4 separate regions of the Homo sapiens genome follow, and regions 1, 2 and 4 are each linked to region 3. Evidence: promoter capture Hi-C in human tissues and cell types (Jung and others, 2019). All regions are on one chromosome and are shown on one strand. Each heading gives the region's core, a stretch centred on a gene start or on the middle of the fragment in contact. The rest is flanking DNA. Distances are from core to core; before and after follow the strand shown.

Region 1 (3,638 bases), core at 426-2,925, 170 kb after region 3:
GCAACAGGGCTCTTACTTAACGGCCTGTTGCTTAAAGTGGGCTCACTGTGATTGAGCAAACCGGAAGTGGCTGCAAAGTTTTTTAGAGCATTGTCACAACCAATGGGTCTTCAACTTTGGAGTGCATCAGAGTCACCTGGAAGACTATTACAGCACAGATTCCTGGGCCCTGACCCAAAGACTCTGACCTGGTAAGTCTGTGGTGGGGCCTGGGAATCTGCATTTCTAATAAGTTCCCAGGTGATGTTGAAGCTGCTGGCTCAGAGACCTCTGCTTTGAGAACCGGTGATTGCATGCATCATTTCAGCCAATCCTCCCCACGTTCTTATTGTTTATAACACTTTCCATTTACAAATGAGCTAAATGAGCCTCAGGGAGGTTGTCCTCCCTCTAGACCAGTTATTTTCAGAAACCTTTATAAACCACTGATGGGTAAGTTCATTCACTAGCAGAATTTAGATGGAAAAAACATAGTAACAAAACATATTGAGCACTAGCTTGCCACATGAGGCATCAAACCAGATATTTGATGTTCTAGAATCCCCATTACAACCCTACCAAAAATTATACCCATTCTAAAAGCGAGGAAACTGAGGCTCAGGGAGGCTAAAGAAGTTGGCCAAACCTGGCAGAGCCCGGGTCCTGTATCTCTCCACTGCTCGGGAAACTGAGGAGGAGCAGGTGAATCAGCTCTAGGAGGCTGCTGGTTGTGCTGTAGTTGTGGCCAATTCCTGAGTGAAAACCCCTGTGAATGAAAAGGGTGGGTGTGGTGACTTCAGACAGAGACGCAATCACAAAGTGACTTAAATGGAAAAACTTGTATTCACGGCTGGAACTTCAAAATGTTAGGTAGTTAAATTCTTCAATTTAAGAAATTGCCTTAGATTTCCAGAGTTTGGTTATGAGCCAGACCTCATTTGTGAATAAGTTTTAATTCTGCAAAGACTTCTTTGTGCCCACAATGTTGAAGGCACGGGGCTCTGTCCAGGAGGAAATGTGAGTCTCTCAGAGCCGGCTTGAGCTTGGAGGCCCCTGTTTTGCAATTCCAGACACTTGCTTCGTTCTCAGATAGGTAAACATTAAATTCTTTAAGAAAGGGAATGAATTAAGAAGATGGTATTAACCATTCTTAAAGTGATAGGGCTTAAAACAGTGGTAGTAGTAGCTGTGTTCTCACGAGTACATACTAGGTTGCCTCTATTTAATGTGATTTATAAGCATTATCTCATTTGTTCTTCATGATAATCCTTTAAAATCTACTTTGATTATTTTGCAGATGTGGAAACTTAGACACAGAGAGGTTAATTCACTTGCCGGGGGTCACAGAGCTGATAAATGACAGAATCAGAGCCAGGAGCATCTGGCTATATGGCCTGTGCCCTAAGCTCCTGTGCCACTGGTCCTTCTGTTTTCATGCCTATACTTTGACCTACGTTAGGGTTGTTATTCATTATTATTATTATTATTATTATTATTATTATTATTATTTTTGAGACGGAGTCTCACTCTGTCACCCAGGCTAGAATGCAGTGGTGCAGTCTCAGCTCACTGCAACCTCCACCTCCTGGGTTCAAGTGATTCTCCTGCCTCAGCTTCCGGAGTAGCTGGGACTACAGGCATGCACCACCATGCCCGGCTAACTGTATTTTTAGTAGAGATGGGGTTTCATGTTGGTCAGGCTGGTCTCAAACTCCTGACCTCAAGTGATCCACCTGCCTCGGCCTCCCAAAGTGCTGGGATTACAGACGTGAGCCACCGCACCTGGCTCATTATTCATAAGTAACTAGTCCTCAGGATTGCAGGGGTGTTCTTTCAAGTGAAAGTCTTGCTTTGTGTATCACATCGATTCTTACTGATGTCTGCGTTCTCCTTCCCTCAACTCTTCGTCAAGCAGGACTGGGGTCAGGGGTTGGCATCTCTGGGGCCTGAGCTTGGGCAGCGTATTCTGTGCAAAGCATGTGGGGCACCAAACTCAGGTCAAGTCTGTTAGGGAAAGTCAAGATTCAAAAGGGAGGGATACCAAGTATGAAAGTCCACAGATAGATGAAGATGGAACCACGGAGGCTGAGCTGAGAAGCCCAGGGTCAGAGCAAGAGAGCCTCCGAGTAACTGCCAAGATCTGTGGATTGTGCTTTGGTTCTTGTTGCGGGGTGGTGTGTGGATACCCTGGCAGTCAAGGTGGACAGTAACATCTTTGCTCTTGCCCAGGGTTTCTAGGAGCCGTGGCTCATGCTCTGGAGTGCTTTTCTTGGCAGAAGAATGTGCCAGCCATCTGGACTACAAAGGCACCAGGTGGCACCTGCTCTGCACTGAATGGCATTCGTGTCTTGAGTCTTCTTTGGATCATCTCGGGACACACCAGTCAGATGACTGCATGGCTGTCTTTGGGTGCGGAGAGTTGATGAGCCTTTACTCTAGGAGCAGTCAGGGAAGAGACATTCTTTGGTATGGCGGGATCACGTTGGCCAAAGGATGGGAGACTGGCAGCCTTCCCACGAGCAGACTTCCTTCTGTTTTAGACACACTGTGTGTAACCTCCCATCAGTAAGCTTTCCAGGCCAGTGTCTAGTGGCTCCTTTCACTCCCTCTAGGTATAAATCAGGTACCTGGCTGCCAGGTATATAGTGATACCTGGGTATTGTATTTTCGTTATCCAAAGAGCCGAATTCTCTCTCATCATGGTTAGTGAAGCCAGGACCTAACATTTATTTTTCCTTGAAAAGCAGACAAGCATAAACATGGTCCACTAATATCAAATCAGTGTTTCTCCACCTTCTCCCTGCTGCTACCCTCCTGAAGCGCTCCTATCAATAATAGTGGTACTCTCTAAATAGGGAGTAAACACAGCCCAGGGCAGATTGAAGAAGCCTCCCGGGTGGTCTGCACCAGCCCATGAATAGGTGGTGCTACAGTCCAGGGGGGCTGTGGCCACCGTGAGTGCACAAAGGAGCTCAAAGCTCCTGAACGACCAGTAGGGACCTCAGTCACTGCCTTTTATTCCCAGTCTAACTTCTCCTTCGACATGAATTACATTGATTCTTCTTCTTTTTTTTTTTTTTTTTTCTTGAGACAGAATCTCACTCTGTCACCCCCAGGCTGGAGTACAATGGCATGATCTCGGCTCACTGCAACCTCCACCTCCTGCGTTCAAGTGATTCTCCTGCCTCAGCCTCCCAAGTAGCTGGGATTATGGGTGCCCACCACCATGGCTGGCTAATTTTTTGTGTTTTTAGTAGAGACGGGGATTCACTATGTTGGCCAGGTTGGTCTTGAACTCCTGACCTCATGATCTGCCTGCCTTGGCCTCCCAAAGTGCTGGGATTACAGGCGTGAGCCACTGTGCCTGGCCTATAGTGATTCTTAAAGCCTGCCCAGCACAACTGAAAGTCGAAGGTGTTCCTCTTGCTTTTTCTGAAAAGAGAAATCACATGATTTTCTTCTATGAAACAAAAAGACACTGCTTTTTAATGTTTGTTACAGATAATGTGCTTGAATGGAACAGCAGAGTGCTTAGAAACCCACTGTGTGTTTACTCTTGGAGTGGTCCCTTCTATCTTGGAGTTGATACATTTTTCCTGATCAGGTAATAAGGTTGAACTACGTTTTCAGTGCTGTAGGGCTTGTGGTGTTTGTTTTGG
Region 2 (3,945 bases), core at 827-3,326, 190 kb after region 3:
CATTTGAGATAGAAGACAGTGGGAAAATCCTTCTGTCTTTCATCTCACAGGACAGTTTTAAGGTACATTTCATATGGCCCTGTGGAACATTCTGGAAGAACTGAGCATTGGCCACCTTGATAGCACATCCTGGTATTGGTTTTCCCTGCTTCCCTGTTCTCCTACCCTATCCCTCATTCCTACACCCACGTGAACTACCTGCACCCGGACATTTGTCTCAGGCTCTGCTCCTCAGTTGAAGGCGTGCCTGGTTCCCCCTCTGCATTAGTCCGTTTTCACATGCTATAAAGAACTACCTGAGACTGGGTAATTTATAAAGAAAAGAGGTTTAATTGACTCATGGTTCTGCAGGCTGTGCAGGCTTCTGCTTCTGGGAAGGCCTCAGGAAACTTACAATCAGGGCAGATGGGGAACCAGGCACATCTTAATATGGTGGGAGCAGGAGGAAGAGAGCAAAGCGGGGAGGTGCTACACACTTTTAAACAGCCAGATCTCATGAGAATTCACTCACTATCACAAGAACAGCAAGGGGGAAATCCATCCCCACGATCCAGTCACCTCCTATCAGGCCCCACTTCAACACTGGGGATTACAATTCCACATGAGATATGGGCAGGGACAAAGATCCAAACCATACCATCCTCCTTCTCGATCCTCTCTCCCCTGTGCTTGGAGTGGGTCCACCCCGTGTCCCACCCTGCCTTTGACAGTCCTCTCTCCCAAATCAACCACCACTTGTATCCATATCGGGTTTCATAGATGACAAGGGACGTTCCCAGGCATGGACTCCTTTTGAGCTGCATAGTAAGCCTCAGGGTGGGCAGGCGAGGATGCGATTACTGTTCCTGTCTAGACCAGGAAACTCAAGCTCAAGGCCCTGCCCGGTGTGGCACAACTAATGGATGGTCAAGACCGAGGCTGCCTCAGGTCCTCCAGCCCCAGCCCCGCTCTCCCTGCCACTCATCAGCCTCTCAAAAGCAGGGCCTCTCAAAAGCAGGAAGTACCTCTGATGGTCAGGATTTCCAGCCTTTCGTGCCATAGGAAGCGCATGTGTGGGGCAAGAAACTGAAGGGCACTCCTCTCCGTATCCTCTCTTCTTTGCAGGAGTACACAGATCCTCATCCTCCTTGGGGCCATGCTGTTCTTGGCATCTTTCACAGCCACTGCTCTGATCACCTTGGCATATAAACTTCCTGTCGTGGCTCCATCAGAAACCAGGTAATGCGGTTCCCCAGCCTGCCCCTTTCTGGCCAGGACTTCCCGGGGAGGGCTGCTGAATGCCAGGCTGTTCACCCTGTGCCCTTTGGTTCATGGAAAAAGTGGGTATGAAACTTTTGGTCTGGATGGGAAAGCTGATTGCCTTCTTGCTTCCAAACTTCTGAACCTTTCAACCTGCACTGGTAGGTCCTCTCTGAACTCAACGTTGCCCATTGAAACGCTTCCCAGAGGAAGGAGCGCCCCCATGTGGCTGTACTGTGTTTCTCCTCCAGCAGCCAATTGCTGCTTGGTGGCTCTGTTGGATGGAGAGACTGAACCTACCTCTTCAAGGTCACACAACTAGTAGGTGGCACAGGTGTGATTTGAACTTAGAAGCCAATCCACAGTGCTATTTCCCCTCCCCAATGAGGCATGTATGACACTTACACAGGAAAAACTGTTATGATTACCTGCTAATCTTCTCTCAATGCAGTGACACAAATGAAAATCAGATTATGTCAGTCATCTGCTTGAATTCCTCCAGTGGCCTCATTGGTCACCCTCCTACCTGCTGACACTGGACCAGCCACACCAACTCATCTCAACGCACCAAGCACGCTCCCCGAACCCCCTTCCCCACCCTCCCCAACCCGGGGCCTTAGCACTTGCTTTTGAGCCTGAATTACTCTTCTGTTAAAATCTAAGATCTTGGCAGGGCTTTCTCCTTCACATCTTTCAGGTGTCTGTGCAAATGTCACCTTCTCAGAGCAGCCTTTGCCGATCTTCCAAAATAAAATGGCCAGAACCGTTCCTGGTATGTGAGTGTTCCATGTGAATCTGTGAGTGGGTGGCATATGAGAATAAATGAATGAATTGGTGACAACATCCCAAGCCTCCTGACCAGGAGACTATCATGCCCTTCCCATATCATGGCATGGTGAAGTGATTGAGGAGGAGGCTCACTCATGTCCAGCCCAGCGGTTTTCAACCCTGGCCACATATTAGAGTCACTTGGGAGCTTCTAAATCTACTGATGCTTTCATCCCCACCCACCTCCGAACAATTGAATCAGAATCTCTGGGCATGGGGCCCAGGCAGCGGACTTTTGTAAGCATTCCCAGGGTGCTTACAAATTCTAATTTGCAGAATAAATTCTTATGTGCAGCCACAGTTGAAGAACCATACGTCTAGTCCTCAAACACCTTCCCTTCCTCCAGTGGTCCCTGCATGGGCAGCTAGGGGCTGAGAGTGCGTCTAGCTTCAGTGGGGAATGGTGATAATTTTAACGGTGATAAATTTAAAGCAGGGGTTCTCAATCTGCCTTTGGGAAACTCAGGAGAGTTTTAAAATTTCTAGTCCCTGAGTCCATGTGCAGAGATGATGATTCCCTGGGCTTGGGTATAACCTGGATGCCTCCCGTGAATGGCACTGTTTAGGCAAAGCTTCTCAGCCTTGAGGGGGTATCAGGGTCACCTGGAGGGCTTCTTAACACACAGATGGTTGAGCCCACTGCCAGTAGGTCAGGGTGGGGCCCATGAGTCTGGGTTCCTAATAAGTTCTCAGGTGATGCAGGTGTTTTTTTTTTTTGTCTGTGTTTTTTATTCTATTGCAACAGAGTCTCACTCTGTCATCCAGGCTGGAGCACAGTGGCATGATCACCGCTCACTGCAGCCTCAACCTCCTGAGCTCAAGCGAACCTCCTGCTTCAGCCTCCTGAGAAGCTGGGACTGTAGGCATGTGCCTCCAGGCCTGGCTAATTTTTTTTTTTTTGTAGAGTTGGGGTCTCTCTATGTTGCCCAGATTGGTCTCAAACTCCTGGGCTCAATGATCCTCTTGCCTCGGCTTCCCAAAGTGCTGGGATTACATGTGTGAGCCACCATGCCTGGCCTGACGCAGCTGTTGATGTCAAGGGATGAAACCTTGAAAAACACAGCTTCAAAGAATAGTTTTTGGTGTCCTTTTAATAGCCTGGCCTGGACCTCTCATCACTTCTCTCTCAGGACAGTCTCTGTCCTTGGGACCCTTGGGTTCACATCTGGGTGCTACATTTTTAGAACATTCTGACATATTGGCCACCAGACACAGCTATTTAAAATGAATACACTCATGATATTTCCTTGGGATCTGGGGTGGAGGGGCCTGAGGGAATTTGGAACCTAAACAAGCCAACTTTGGCTGAGGTGGGGCCATGAGGTCACTGTTTGCGCACCATGACTAAGGAAATGAACAAGTGTGCCCTAAATGTACCTTTGGGCTTGCTGATTATTCCAATGGACATCTCAGGGATTTGGATTCCCTTTGCCATGTCCAGATCAAACATAACATTTTGGCTTATTTCCTTGTATTTTTCAGTGAAGAGGCGATTGTATTGTATTTCGTGGAGTACTACACAAAGCCCTACTGCCGATTTGGGCCAGTTCTTGTGGGCCTCTTTCTGAGCATTTACATGCACCAAAACCACCAGGAAAACATTCTCAGAACCAAGGTATGATTTCCCGTGCCTCACTCTATGGGCATGGGTCTGGCTGGGACTGTGTGGCCCACCTGGCCAGGCTCTTCCAAAGCTGTGGATGAAGCAGTCAGCCTGCTGGGTACTGTATTGTGCTGTAGAGTGTTACTGATGTCTCTCTGTGCTAAAGAATCAGAAGGAATTGGCCAGGTGCAGTGGTTAACACCTGTAATCGCAGCACTTTGGGAGGCTGAGGCAGGAGGATCCCTTGAGTCCAGTTCAGGACCAGCTCAGGCAAC
Region 3 (3,617 bases), core at 393-2,892:
CCTCCCTGCGCCCCCTCACCAGCCCCACCACCCCGCTCCACTCCCGGGGCGAAGCCGCGAGCCAGCGGCCCCGTATGGGCGAGACTTGGCAGGTCCGCGGGGCGCCTTCTCGCCGCCGCCGGACTCGGGGCTCCGCAGCGGCCGGGCGTCGGCGCCCGCCGGCCGCGGGGCTTCGCGCTGCCGCCGCCCGGTCCCGGAGCTCCCTTCCCCCACCGGCCGCCCCCTCCCCCTCGCCCGCGCTCCCTTTTGTTCGCTCGCCGCCCGGGCCGAGCCGCCGCCGCCGCCGCCGCCCGGCCCGGCGGCGAGGCCGCTCCACCGCACACGCACACACAGACCCCGGCAGCGGGAACGCAGATGACACGCCCGTAACATGGAAGCCGCCGCCGCCGCCGCTCCGACGACAGCAGCAGCAGCCACAGCAGCAGCCGCCGGCGGCGCCGCGCTGAACAAAGGTCATCCGAGCTGCGGCCCAGACGCCCGGGCTTGACCGCCGCGAAGGCCAACCCCGGGAAGGGGGTGGGTGTGCGCCTCTGGGGGTGCGGGGCGGCGGGAGGCGGCCGGGGCGAACGAGGGGCGCAGGGCAGCCGGACCCAGGGGCGCGGGTGGGCGCCGGGCAGAGGCGGGGTGCGGCCCCTCGTGCCCACTCCTGCGGGCCGGGGTGAGCGCGTGAGGCTCAGGCCCCTGGGCCTGCCCGCAGTGGCCTGTCCCACCCTGGCCTTGGGGACAGCCGGCCTTCGCGCCCCGCCAGCTGGCTTGGGGGGCCGAGGAGGAACCGCCCGGGCTAGGCCCCGCAGGTTACGAGACGGGGGCCACGTGAGCGCGGCTCTCCTACTCCCCCCGCCGGCGCCGGCCGGGCACAGATGCGTTTCCAGAGGCCTCCGTGCCCCCTCTCCCACTGGCCCTGCCTTCGCCCCCCGCCCCCTCCCCAGACAGCCCCAGTTTTCTTCCCCCGAGGTGAAGGGATTTGGACTTCTCCCCCCAGGTGCTTGAAAGAAGAGAAGGTTGGAGGAGGAGGAGGAGACTGGGGGGCTGCTGGTGGTGGTGACAGGGCTGGGAGAGAGAGGAGAGGGACGGAAGGGAGGAGGGGGCTGGGTGGGGTGGGGGTGACAGCAGAGAGGAGCCTGGTCAACAAGCCAGCACCACTGTGCTAGGAGGCCAGGCCGGCTCTGCAGCCGACGCATCCCGTGTGAGCAGACACACATAGCTCGCTTTCTTGGGGGCTCTTTGTCAGCCACCAACACAGAGAGCACACACTGACACACACGTACACAAAGATCTGAGCCAGGTTGTGGGAGGTAAGTGGGGGAAGGAGAAGGAGGGGGAAACAGTGTCTGCGGTGGGCTGTGGGGTGGAGGGGAGGGGGGATGGGCCCTGAGGGGCTCTGGGGTGCTTGCGAGGTGAGCATTTCCAAGGCTGTGTGCTCGTGGGGTGGGGGGACACACGATGACCTTCTCCTCCTCAGGAAGACCTAAGAGGGAAGAGCAAACCCCAGCGAGATCCCCCCTGTGCTGATGATTTTCAGGGACTTGTTGGCAACTCAGCGAGGGTTGCCATAGCTTTTTTATGTAGGGTGACCAGAACCGGCTGAAACTGGTTTGAGGCAGATCAGCTCCTGAACACAATGCAGTCACTGAGCTACTACAGTAGGATAGCAGCTTCCTCCCTTCATGGCAGCCAAAAGCAGAGGAGCTTGCAGGAAGGTACCATCCCTACACAGTATGTGAATGCACACTTAGACACCACACAGCACTGGTACGTGACTAATGGAGCCCTAAAAGATTCTGGGTAGAGAAGATGGAAAAAAAGGTGCAGGTTTGCAGGGTCTGAGATTACTTGGGCTTTTCCTGCCTTTTTCTTTTGCTTAAGGGATGGACAAGGAGCTGAGATTTATGACCCTTATTAGAGAAAAAAATGTGCCTTGCTAGGGTGGGGACACTTGGTTGATGCAGTCTCTCTCTCTCTTTCTCGGTGTTTATAACAAAACAAAACCAAAATGAACTGAGGGGTTTGTAATGGTAGTTTGTTTGTTGCTGGAGAATGCTACTTTGCATGCTTTTTTTCTCTTGCAGGGTATGTTCTGTCTTGTGCTTTTTCTTTTAGAAGCTACTAAAGGGTGTTGGGGATGCTTCTGACTATTATGAAGGCCAAAAGGTAACAATATCGTTCTAGGAAATGAACATAAATGCATTCCAGTGATGCTGTTAGCCATACATGCTGTCTTTTTTTTCCTTGTAGGCCTGTTGACTGGGGCTGCTTTTAACCCTTTCCTATTTGCTGAGAATGCAGCCGTGTGACAGTAACTGAACATTGGTCTAAAGTCTTTCCAAAAGGTCAAGGTTCACAAGGTGAGATACGCTGTTTTGAGCATGAATTTAAATATTTATTTGCAGATCCATTTAGACACAGACGGACCGTGGATTGCTACCCAGGAGATAAAATTGGGTTCAGAGTGGAGAAGAAATGCTCTTAATGTTATCCCAGTTTAATGGGATTAGAGTGACTTTATGATGGTATTGCGATCAAGGCGAAATCTGAATGCCTTCATTAAATCGCATGTGTCTGGGCAATTGGGAGAGTCAGGCCTGGAAGGAAGCGAGTGTGGAGAATGGTAGGCGTCAGGGCCTTGTGGAGAATGTGCTGTTTTGCATAAGACGAAAGCAGTACACATGTGGCATTTTCCCGATGATTATAAGAAAAGGAAGGGCTTCACCAAATCGAGGCAGCCTAGCCACCTTTTTAGGATTTGAGGAGTCTGAAGGTAGATTTGCCTTTTGTTCATTCATCACCTTTCTTTTACCTTGCTCTCTTGTGTTAACCTGAAAGGTTTTTCACTCCGACTCAAGTGGTGGAATGTCTTTTATTGATTTTGGGGGCTGTTGACGGTGAGTTCGCCATTGGATTCTTTGTGGCATATGTTTAATGTGGAATACTAATGCAATACCAGGGGGAAGCCGGGTAGTCTGGCTTCATCTGTGAAAAGATGCCTGTTAACTCAAAGCTGTACTGGAATGGGTGGTAGAAAATGTCTGATGCCTTTAAAGATCGCAGTTAGGTTTGAGCAGGCATTTTAATGCACCTTCCAAAACCAGAGGTTGGAGAGGAGAGGAGAGAAGGAAGGAGTGAGGAGAGTAGCAAAGTGAAGAACAAAGGCTGAGGGGGCTTGCAGGAGAACACTCAACATTTTGCCTTGGGTTCCTTGTGAAAAGAACTGCAACTTCCCCAAACAGGAAACCAGCAGCTCCAGAATGGGATCCAGTGTGATCTCAACAACAGATAGAACTGGTCCTGCCTTTCTGCTGGTTTTTGGTAAAAGTACAGTCAAGAGGAGCCCATAGAAGACATGACTGAAAATAAAATTTTCCCCTACTTCGAAGTGGGCATTTTGTTCCTCTCCGTGTTCAGCAGAATAGGGGCTTTTCAGCAGTGCCGAGGATCTTGGAATTGGTTAAGTTGTGTGCTGGCAGTTGGTGGGCAGGATATCTGCAGTGAAGGACGTCAAGTATGCAAGGGTTTTATTGTTAAAATGTTTTTCATTTGGCTACAGAACATCCACTATGTGATAAAACTGGCAAAAGGGAAACAAGAGTGCATGGTTAGCTCAGGATACTTTATGGAGT
Region 4 (3,789 bases), core at 27-2,526, 210 kb after region 3:
CCCAAAGGGCTTCCCTAATAGGCCCCCTTTGGGAGCCATAGTCATTCTTTCAAGCGGCCAGGTACCCTTTGGCCAAAGATCTCTTCCATTATGGGTTCGTCCAGGAGCTTGGGGCACTTGCTCTCTGACAGCAGCCTCCATTCATTAACGGACTCAGGCCAGTACCAGTGCTCACTCATTCCTTTGTATGTTCAAGAAATATGTATTTGTTCCTGCTGTGTGCCAGTTACTGAGCTAAGCAGTAGGAACACTATGTAGAGAAACACAGGTGCAATTTCTGCTCCCTTTGACCTTATAGTGAGTGCCCTGCATGAGGGTCATGATAATCACACCAAAAATACCTAATTTCAACTTAAGTGAGAACTGTGAAAGCCTGACCCTAACTAGGAGGCCTGAAGTGGAATTTCTGAGAAGCTAGCCCTAAATTGAGATTTGTAAGACAGTGATACCTAGTATTTATTGAGGGCTCATTATATGCCAGGTACCTTCCTAAGCACTTTACAGAAACCAAGGCATTTAATCCTAATACAGCATGCACATAAACACTATTATCCTCATCTACACATGGAGAAACTGAGGCACAGAGCTATGTCATTGGTGCAAGGCCAATGGTGGGGGCCAGGTGGGGGCACCAGGATATGAATCCAAGCAGTTCGAATCCAGAGCCCATATGCTCAGCCACCATGTCCTGATGGGTTAACCAGGCAGGGGGTTTATGAGCAATTCTTTCCAGAAGTTTGACTGTGAAAAGCAGGAGAGAGATCGCTGGAAGCTGGAGTGTGATGTGGGCTTGGAAGGTGAGAAAGACTTAGGACATTTGCACTCCTTGAGGATTCTGTGAGGTATTTTATGTTTCCTCAATGCTTGAAGGAAGATGAGGACTAAGGAAGCTTAAAAGAGGGTCTTACCACCAGACCTGGGGGACCGAGGCCTCCTCCAAATGTGCTGCTTTTTCCCCATTGTCACACAGCCTCCCTGTATCTCCCCGGGAGGCCCCCTTGTTCCCTCCAGTTGTGCAAACATGTTCAGGATCTTCATGGATCTGGACCAGAGACAATAGAGGACACTTACAGAGACTGGCACTCTGTGGTTTTCAGATCCACGCTGGGAATGGGATGGACTTGTGAACAGTGAGCTGGTGATATCTTCCTCTGGTATCAGATGAGGCTCACAGCCTCATAAAAGCTTCTGAGACATGTAGAGACCCTTTCTTGGGAAACATCTTATTTTACAGAAGATGAACCTGAGACCAATGGGCTTCAAACAAATCAGCAAATCTGGTCATGTTGGACACAACAAATCAGTGTCCAGAACCCAACAGAACCCAAGTCCCATGAGATATTTTCTTTAACTCTAAACAAATCCCCTACTACAATCTCTGGGCTAGAAGGGCAGTCATTCTCCTTGATATCCTTTTATAAAACCCCTGCGAGAAACAGGGGAAGTCTGTTAAGGTTTTAGATACTCTACACTTCAGTGCTTACTGGATTGGGAGTTTGGAGAAGCACTGTCTAGCTGTTAATTACATTTTAAAAGTTCAAACTACTGCGTTCCATTGTGGTCTGACATATAGACACTTTGTTGCTGAAGCTAAGCATTCCCAACCGCAGAAATTTGACTTTTCAGTTGCTACTTGGTATGAATAAAGTAAGCAGGTTGTGATGACTATGGTGATGAGGGTAAAGGGTTTGAGGGGGTGGAGGCTTAGGTGAACATCAGCAGGAATCTGCTGAGGGGAGGTGGCATGGTGGGAATGGAGGGATCAGGGAAGATGGGAATGCCATTGTCTGTGTTTGCCTGAAAGGCTGCAGAAAACCACAGGACAGGCTGAAACTGGAGGGAGCAGGAGGACGCTTTCTCCACGCTGGAAATGGATCTGCAGTGGGGAGCTTCTCTGGCCCCAGACTGTGCCTTCCCAGCTGGCAGTCTGGGAGTTGCTTCCCTTTTAGGATTTTTCAATCTCAACCTCTCCTCAGCGAGGAGTGGACCAATAAACCCATGATCTTCAGCTTTCTGTTCTCCAGCTGTCAGCCTTCTTCATCATGATGACTTCTGGCAGGGCAAAGAAGGAAGACCCAACCCACTCCATTCTTGGAAGGGAAGATTTCTTACATGAATGCCGAGGCTACACTGAACTGGCATATGGTTCTTCTGTAGAGTTTTATGAGGTTTAAGGCTACATCTTGCAGATATGGGGGCTACGGCCACTAAAAAGAGATTGTTCCTGGGGCCAGACACTAGGAAAAAGGAAGTCCTTAGCCCAGGAAACTGAACTAAGAGGGCAGGCTGTGGATAGTTGAGAGAGACAGAGAATAAAAAAGAGAACTACTTTCTTTTTGTTCAAGATCAGATTGTCACAAAATTTAGTGAAGACAAAGATTACTTGGGGATGTTGATAAAAATACATTTCCTGACTCCTACATACTAACAAAAACAAGTAAGCGATTCTGATGCCTACACTTCAAGAAACACTGATATTGACATTAAGGGCCTGGATGTCCCAAAATATGCTCCTAGAGGTAGAGGATACGAAAACAGCACCATTGTGTGGAGCAGGATGTGGAGAAGGGAGCGATGACGATGAGGATGCTGCTAAGGTCAGATACTTCCATGGAAGGTGCCTGCTCCAGGGCAAAAAAAGCAGCAAAAGGTTGCTGCCTGCCTTGCTTCTGTCTCTTTATCCAGCCACCCTGTGCTTGCTCAGCAGGATTATCAGCAAGGTGGCATGCTGGCTGCATGGGGAGAGGCTGGCTCATAGCCAAAGAATCATGCTCATCCTGCTCACCTGAGAATTAAGAGCCTTATGTGCGGTGCTCTTCCATGATAGTAACGAGGGACACAATTATTGCCACACTTGGGGCTTATTCTGAGAAGGTCTTCCATACAACTTGCCCCAGGCCTTGTCAAGAATTCCTCCAGTCTCACTTCTTCCAAGCTGTTAGTCATCTAGCTAAATGGTTAGCTGCTGCCTGGGAATTAGTGAAGATCTATATATTTGGCCATCTCTTCTTCCAGGAATTCAAAGTTCTACCCATTACAAGGATTTCTCTGTCCTGCCAGAGCTACCCCTGAATGGGGCTATAATATTGTATCAACTTTCAGATGATTGCGTGGCACCTTCTGTAAACCAGGCTGAATGTTTTCTTAGTCAACTGATCCCAGGAAACCAGCCGTGAGGTCATGGCAGATGGCATTGTAGCAGCAGGAGGTGGTGCACTGAGATTGTACAGCCTCTGCTCCAGTGATGTACCGTCACTTTCAGGACCTGCCCCCATATTCCATATCCACTTATGATGGAGACCTCTGCAGGCATCCAACCTTATGACTCACTGGATTAGATAAAAATTCATTATGGATAGCTTAAGTCACATGACCACTAATGTCCCATAGCCAGGTATTCTGTTTTTACAAGGGCCCAATGGCAAGTTAGAAACTTTTTTTTTTTTTTTTTTTTAGACGGATTCTTGCTCTGTTGCCCAGGCTGGAGTGCAGTGATGTGATCTCGGCTCACTGCAACCTCTGCCTTCCGGGTTCAGGCAATTCTCCCTGCCTCAGCCTCCTGAGTAGCTGGGACTATAGGCGCCCACCACCATGCCCAGCTAATTTTTTTTTTATTTCTAGTAGAGATGGGGTTTCACCATATTGGCCAGGCTGGTCTAGAACTCCTGACCTCAGGTGATCCACCCACCTTGGCCTCCTAAAGTGCTGGGATTACAGGCATGAGCCACTGTACCTGGCCACAAGTTAGAAACTTTTACTTAGAAGAATATTAATAGCCAAAGAGGGCTT

The links. The method cuts DNA at HindIII sites, captures the fragments that hold promoters and counts their contacts. A contact is called where the count stands out against the background at its distance.
Region 1: a contact is called between a fragment that was not itself captured here and the fragment with the promoter of ZNF532 in region 3, in 2 of the 25 tissues and cell types used here (liver and lymphoblastoid cells).
Region 2: a fragment that was not itself captured here is called in contact with the fragment with the promoter of ZNF532 in region 3 in 1 of the 25 tissues and cell types used here (dorsolateral prefrontal cortex).
Region 4: a contact is called between a fragment that was not itself captured here and the fragment with the promoter of ZNF532 in region 3, in 1 of the 25 tissues and cell types used here (hippocampus).

Annotation. Positions count from the first base shown.
Region 1 is chr18:59,033,460-59,037,097 of GRCh38, forward strand. It overlaps the pseudogene OACYLP. Among named protein-coding and RNA genes, the nearest start is that of SEC11C, 100 kb to the right of the region's middle. The HindIII fragment of the contact is 3,889 bases long and covers 1-3,620 here.
Region 2 is chr18:59,055,936-59,059,880 of GRCh38, forward strand. It overlaps the pseudogene OACYLP. Among named protein-coding and RNA genes, the nearest start is that of SEC11C, 82 kb to the right of the region's middle. The HindIII fragment of the contact is 4,187 bases long and covers 1-3,945 here.
Region 3 is chr18:58,863,235-58,866,851 of GRCh38, forward strand. It overlaps ZNF532 (zinc finger protein 532), which reads left to right and starts at 1,643. Exons shown (of 10, transcript NM_001375912.1): 1 at 1,643-2,151; 2 at 2,236-2,345. The HindIII fragment of the contact is 28,079 bases long and covers 1-3,617 here.
Region 4 is chr18:59,076,692-59,080,480 of GRCh38, forward strand. No RefSeq gene overlaps it. Among named protein-coding and RNA genes, the nearest start is that of SEC11C, 61 kb to the right of the region's middle. The HindIII fragment of the contact is 3,871 bases long and covers 1-3,212 here.